Regions from separate parts of the Homo sapiens genome. Here region 1 is linked to region 2. Evidence: promoter capture Hi-C in human tissues and cell types (Jung and others, 2019). All regions are on one chromosome and are shown on one strand. The core of a region is centred on a gene start or on the middle of the fragment in contact, and the rest is flanking DNA. Distances in the headings are between cores, read along the strand shown. Region 1 overlaps ZBTB38 (zinc finger and BTB domain containing 38). Region 2 holds the start of SLC25A36 (solute carrier family 25 member 36).

Region 1 (3,562 bases), core at 985-3,484, 470 kb before region 2:
GACCTCTGGTGAAATAATAGCTAGAATGGAGAAGATGATGATGATGATGCCAGAAACAAGAAAAGCTAACATTGACTGAGCACCTTTTACATCCCAGGCCCTGTGCTATGTGCGTCAAAGACATTATGACTCAGCACCGAGAAAGAAAGGGCAGGGTTAAAAGATATGCAGAAAAGAGGGAAAGCACTGTAAATTCCAGGGTGTGTGGAAGGTCAATAAAGTGTCAACAGAGGCAGAGAGGACAATCCTCAGATTGTCCCAGTCTAGGCCTAGTTAAGGAGTCACTGTTTGATATTTCAGAAAACATCCTTGGACCAAACATACCAAAGACCAAGTACACCAGGACGTATCTGCTGTCCCTTGCTGTCATCCATCACCTGATGCCATCCAGGTTAGCCTCTGCAGGCTTGGTTCCATCTGGCTGCCTTAAGACGGACATGCCTGGACACAGAGGGGCTTCCTCTGATGTTCTTCCTGTCTCACCCTGGGATCAGTACACCGAGCACTGGGCAACTTAGTCAGGGCTGCTCTGTCTGATGCCTTCCAGATGTCCCTGGACACAAATACTATGCTCTGCTACTGACCCCACTGACATAATTACTTTGCCTGTATGAAATGGACATAGTTATATCTGAAGTGGCTGACTTATTTGTGGTGACATGGAGAAGGTTCAATGGTCTTTACTTTTCCCTGGGCTGGGCCTTAGACAGCTTCAAGCCCAACGCTCTGCAGGAGAAGACTGGGCAGGTTGCCACTGAGGGAATTCGGATCAGCGGACTGAGTCAAATGGCGTGCAACTGGCATGCAAGAAGCAGTCCATAGGCTCCATTCGGCCTGCAGACGCTCTCATCAGGCCCCTATCTGTGTGAAAAAGTTTCAAACCTCCAGTTTGCCACAATCTAACCACTTGCTTACCTTCTTATACCAAGCCCACATTTGATGTTCATATTACTTTCCTGTTCCTGTATGTATGTGAGTTTTAGATCTTAGTCTATAAAAACGTAAGTATAAATCACATGTAGGTTTTGTTCTGCCTGTGAAATTTTAATCTCTGTACTGTGAGTCATTGTCCTTCTAAAATTTAAATGATGAGATGTCAGTATTCAAGTTTTCAAAACTCTCAGAGTGCTCCGTCCTAATGAAGAACAGGTGTTGAGAAGCCTTACCACAGAATATATTTGGGTGACATACTATTTCTTAAGGATCCCTTTAGTTTGTCCATTCCTATGGGGAAAATTTCTCTACGTAAATCTTCAGAGACAGAGTGGCAGGTATCAAACTCTTCACTTTGCTCCAGTCAGTCACATTAATGATAAAGTCTGTTCAAGCTTCAAGAAAAAGGGGTACTTAACTCCTAATAAGCATTTCATGAAATCAGATTTTCTATCAGAGGCACTCAGCTCTCCTTTAAAACAAGCATCCCACAAGTCATCATGAGCAGGTGTGTAACGGGGGAAGCAACACTCACTGAGTTTTTATCGGTTCCGGTATCCTGAGCTGACATCATGCTCCTTCCTGGGTTACAGTATGTGGGAGTTGACATCATGCTCCATCACTGTGTCACACAAATACAACAGTTCCAAAAAACAGATCATAGAAATAGGGCCTGGACCATCCAGCTGTCAGGTATTCAAAACAATAGGGTCAACACCATGAAGCATCTCCACCAAGATCACAAGTACCCACAAGGAATCCTCAGAACTGCTCAATGAAAATGGTGGCTAAACCCAGGAAGCAGATTTCAGCTTTAGAGACATCAGGGGGATGTGCAGCTGATTCCTCAGTCTGGGGAGCATTCTGACCGTCTGGGGTGTGAGGACCTCCTGCAGGAAGGTGGCTGAGGCTCTCGGCCGGCTGGGTCTTCCCCACCTCCTCCCCACTGTCAACAGACACCTGGCTCCAGGCGCAAAATACCAGCGTACAGAGATCATCTGTATGGGCCTGGGCCCTCAGATATTTATTTAAGTCCACGTACACACTTTCCCTGCACAAACATTTTCTTCTTCCCCATTTCCCACAATTCCTCCTCCCATGTTTCCAGTTTGAAGCCACTGCTGGCAACACTACGACCTCTGGAGGGAGGCCAGGCCTGGCAGCACAGAGCTCGAAGGCAGCACAGGATTGTGAAAGTCGCCTCTTCATAGGCTCAGGAGACGCAGGCGCTTGGCAGAGCTGTCCGGCAAGCCCACCAGTAGGTCTGAGGTACAAAGAGAGGCACAAAGGCTTTCCTACTATGGAAAAGCGACAAAAACTCTGGCCAGTGTTTCAAATGGATGAACAATGGTTCAGATAAAAAAAAAAAACCGAGTGGAAAAAATTGTGGGAGGGAGAAAGAATATTAAGGGAGCTAAGTTCCAGTGAGCTGTTGCCAATTTCACCCCAAAAGAAAGGTAATAGAAACAGAAGGAAAGTTTCTGGCAGTAGTCAGGTGCCTACATAGTTCCCCTATTCACCTGGTTTAGGGTAGAATTATCTGAGCAGAAGGAGCAATGATGTTGGTAAATAAGTTGTCTACATTAAAAAATAATTAAAACTCCCCAAACAAACTCCAAACCACTGCAGGTAAACACTCGCAATATGTTGTTTAGAAAAATTATGCTTTAAATATACTGATCTAAAAAAAAAAAAATCAAAAGAACAGACTGTTCTGTAGAATAGCTTGAGTTTCTGCCTGTGCTTTCATTTTAGAAAACAAATGCTCGTAGACCTCACAGTGGGAGGAGTTTCACACAGGGATTCAGCTCGCAGAAAATGGCCACCGGCTTTGAGAGACCTTAACACAACAAACAGGGCACCCAAGAGACCTTTTGGGAATACGAGGCACTTGCCTTTCACAAGGGTAATCGTCTAGAGATACACAAAACCATTTTTTTTTCTTCCCGACCAGTAACATAAATCATAGCTTCCAAAGTATTTGTTTACAGAATACCACAGTGACTAATTACCAGAACTTTTCTTATTCTCTCTGAGCAAAGGAACCTCATGGGAGAAAAAAAATATAGGTCATTTTTAATGTAAGGGAGTTGCTAGGATTGGAGGTTAAGACAACTATTTAAACTTCATAAAAGGAAAAACAAAAGACCTCAAAAAGTATTTTCTAAAATAGAGAAAGGTGCAAATCTTCTTATCAGAAACGCATTATAAATAGAAAAGAAACTCTTAAAAGAGATTCTTCAAATGTGACAAAAAGCTCTTGGTTTCCTGAAAATGTCAAAAACAAAAACAAATATTGACAATACTAAATATCCAACAGACAGGGTAAGAACTTCACTTAGAAGCAAATTTCCATTTAGGTAATTTATGGTGCTTCTGTGCAAAAAGTTGCTTTACACTGTGTAGTCGCTGAAGACACTCCAGAATTGCTAGACCTTCACAGGAAAAATTTTAAAGGTCAGGGTTTTTTTTCTTTCCCTAGTTAGCACAGCACTCAGGGGCAGCCAGTTCTCTAACGTCTGAGTAAAACCCTACACAGGGCTTCATTTCAGTGCCACGTCATGGCTTTTGCAGACTATCTTCTTGCCTCCGCTTCCTCAAAGTGGTCCTTCTGTCCCCTCCCATTAAA
Region 2 (3,506 bases), core at 804-3,303:
AAACCTATATTTACATGTTTTTATAACAAAATGATGATCCTAATCCAAAGTGGGAAATTAGTGCAATCAAGCTAACATTTATTTCAAATATAAGTATGCCCCATTTTTAACTAAACTTGATACATGAATCCTGAACGCAGAATAATAGAAATGTTAGGAGCTAGAGAAGGGCTTTAGAGATCATATAATACAACCTCCTAATTTTATAGATGAAGCAATTGAAATAAAAGTGTCCATTTTTCACCCAAATTAAAATAGTGCTAGACTACATCTGCGGTCTCCTCACTTCAGGGTTATAGATCTAATTACAAGAGGGAGCTCAATTATTTGCATGAGATCTTTTCAAGAGCATCTACATAGCTACAGAATTTTTTTAAAAAGATTTAATTTGCCTGATTATTGGCAGTAAACATTTCAGAAATATGGAAAGCAAACTGCCTAAACTGGGTCTCACAGATCAATAGAAAAATATTGTTTTTATGCCAGAACAGTGGCCGGCCCATAATTGGTGTACAACAAATATTTGTTGATGAAAGTGTGCCAACCTAAAGAAAGTATTGCCATCACTGGCTCAATAGAGTCCATATGTCCAACTCAAAGCAAGGCACCGTGAATAGAACTGCGTGTGTATTTCTTTCATATTCTTAAAAGTCGATCTAAAAACTGCAGGATTTAAGAAGATGCCGGTAAGAGTCTCAGCATAATTCACCGAAGGCATTTTTGATAAGAAAACTCTTTATAATCCTCCAAATAAGTAACTCTTAAAATTGCTATGATTCTCCAAATGATTTAGAAGGAGCAAATCTAAACAGGAGGCTAAACTGGAAGCTCTAACACTCATTTTGGCAATCAGGGAACTAAGACTTTAGGCTTAGTCCTAATCTTGCACACACATAGTAACTATTAACACTATCTTCAAAAAATCTGACCTCTCTCCACTCCTACTTTCTCCTAAGCAGCAGAAAAGCAAGCGGTGTTCAAGAGGGGTGGTTTTCTCGAAAGGAATCTGACCCCAAAGGTACTGGAAAGCTTTGCACCCCATTCACCACCTGGAAAACCTCGGGCAAGAAATTTTCCAAGGGCTAGAAACACCCTACAGCAACCACGGGAGAATACCAAAGCCTTCCCCGCTCGATCCCGTAGCCCCCTTACCACCCACCTTGCAAAGCCGAGCCCGGAAATGAGCGGCCCGAGGTCCGAGGTGGGGCGTGAGTGACGTGCAGAGGCCCAAGCGAGCGCTGCAAGGAGCGAGGGCTAAAGGAGTCTCCGGCGCCCATTTTGTCCTCAGCCTCCGCACTTTCCGCCCCGTCCCCTTGGGCCATGCAACCTACGCGAAATCCGAAGCCAGGCTCCTCAAAGCGGCCCTGGATCCCCGACGCCTGCTAGATTGCGGCGTGCGGCCAGGTCCAGCGGCGTCCGGGTAATCAAGCGCCGACCCCAGCTCTTGCCCGCGTCTCCTCAGACGCATGGATTCGGCCTCCGCCTCACCCCGGCCCCGCGGGCCCAAAACCTCACTCCCGGCCCGGGTTTCATGCCTCAACCCTCTTTGCCCGGGCCTCACTCTCTCGCCCTCGGGCCCGGGCCTCACCCCCTTGCTTCCCCGAACCGGAGCCCCCCTCACCACCCACGGGCTGGGTCGCTCCCCTCACCCGCAGGCCCGTGGCAGCTCCCCGCCCAGGCCTCACTCCCGCCCCCCCACCCCCCCACCCCCCTCGGCCCCCCTCGCCCCCCTCGCCTGCGTCTTCGGCCCCAGCACCCTCAGCCCCAGTGCGCACGCCCCGCCAGGACCTTACCCTCCGGCAAACAGATGCACCAGCGTGTCCCTCTGGCTCATTCTCTCTCCCGCATGTCCTCCGGCCGCTGAGGCGGGACGCGGATCTGGCCGCCCGCTACGGCAGGCGGCTTCGGTCCCGGACTGGAGACGCACAGCGCCCCGGGGACGGCGAGGAGAGCTGGCCGAGATGCGGCTGCAGAAAGCAACCGGCACAGCCCTCCCCGCGGCACTCCAGCCGCGCCACCGCCTGCCTAAGCGCGCCGCCCTTCACCAGAGGCTGAAAGCGACGCAGCGCAGCGCGACGGAGAGTGGGCGGGGGATGGTAGGGGGAAGATGACTATTTGATGGCTCCCGACATAAACAGAGGCTCCCATTGGTGTGAGCGTCGTGACGTCACGCACTCTGCAGTGTTCTTTCACGTGATCCCTACGGGCTCTTTCAATGAAAGGGGCCGCGAGGCGTGGCCAGAACGCGTGCCCGGAGGGTGGTAGGTCACCGCGCTCCTAGCACCTGAGACCTGGGGCGCCCCTGGCCTGAGTGAACGCGCCAATCACGGCTGCACTCTCCTGAACAGGGAACTGGCGGGGCGGGAAAAATCGACTTGGTTCCGGGTTCGCAAGCGGATTTACTTTGAAAAAATTGGATTTATGACCCAGCAGTTCCCTTGGTGTCTATCTCAGAGTAACCCTCGCACAATGCATAAAAAGGTTTGTGCACGGATACTCCTATATAGGCTCACAAACAGTACAGAATTATGAACAATGCTTGCAGTTGCAGAAAATTGAAATCAGTGGGGGAATGAAGAAATAAATCATGAAACATTCCTACTATGGAATATTATGCAATCGTGACAAGGGATGAGGTGATTCCATATGGCAAAAAATCTCCCGAAGTGTGTAATAAGTAAAAAAGGCAAGTAGAATTAAAATACTTGGGTTTGTTTTTAAAAGAATAAAAGTTCATGGGAAATGGAATTAAAAGATAAAATTTAAAAATATAAACTTTGTTTTTCAACGTAAGCTCCATCAAGTTAAAGACAGTTTGGTAAGTGATGATACCGGCTCTTTAGTCCATCTGTAAAGAATTGAGGGTTCTGGGAATTTAATCATGAAAATGCAGGCTTTTTTACGTTATTAACTGAAGAAAAATGGGTGCCATTTACAGATTTTTCACGATTAGAAAACAAAAATATGTCAGAAGGAGCCAGGTCAGGAATGTAAGATGGATACCTGATAGTTTCCCATCGAAATCCCTGGAAAAATGCCCTTATTTAAAGAGAGGAATGAGCAGGAACATTGTCCTGATGGAGAAGGACTCTCTGGTGAAGATTTCGTAGGTGTTTTTATGCTAAAGCTTTGCTTCACTTTCTCCTATAGTAAGCGGATGTTATTGCTCTTCCACCCTCCAGAAAGTCAACAGGCAAAATACCTTGAGCATCCCAAAAAGCTGCTGCTATGACTTCGGCTCTTGACCAGTCTACTTTTGATTTGACTGGACCACTTGCACCTCTTGGTAACTATTGCTTTGATCCAGAATCATACTGAGAAAGCTATGTTTGATCTCCTGTTACAATTCTTCAAAGAAATGTTTCAATATATGATCCCACTTGTTTACAATTTCCATTGAAAGCCCTGCTCTTGTCTGCAGCTCATCTGGGTGCAACAGTTTTGCACCCATCGGGTGAAAAGTTTGCTCAACTTCAGTTTTTCAGTGAGAAATGTGTAAGTAGAAC

What was found. The method cuts DNA at HindIII sites, captures the fragments that hold promoters and counts their contacts. A contact is called where the count stands out against the background at its distance.
Region 1: a fragment that was not itself captured here is called in contact with the fragment with the promoter of SLC25A36 in region 2 in 1 of the 25 tissues and cell types used here (hippocampus).

The regions. Positions count from the first base shown.
Region 1 is chr3:141,411,546-141,415,107 of GRCh38, reverse strand. All of the region lies in intron 5 of ZBTB38 (zinc finger and BTB domain containing 38), which reads right to left. Among named protein-coding and RNA genes, the nearest start is that of ZBTB38, 45 kb to the right of the region's middle. The HindIII fragment of the contact is 4,547 bases long and covers 1-3,562 here.
Region 2 is chr3:140,940,383-140,943,888 of GRCh38, reverse strand. SLC25A36 (solute carrier family 25 member 36) reads right to left here and starts at 2,053. Exons shown (of 7, transcript NM_001104647.3): 1 at 1,794-2,053. The coding sequence starts at 1,834. RefSeq lists enhancers at 900-1,129, 769-1,616, 1,710-2,079. The HindIII fragment of the contact is 6,402 bases long and covers 1-3,506 here.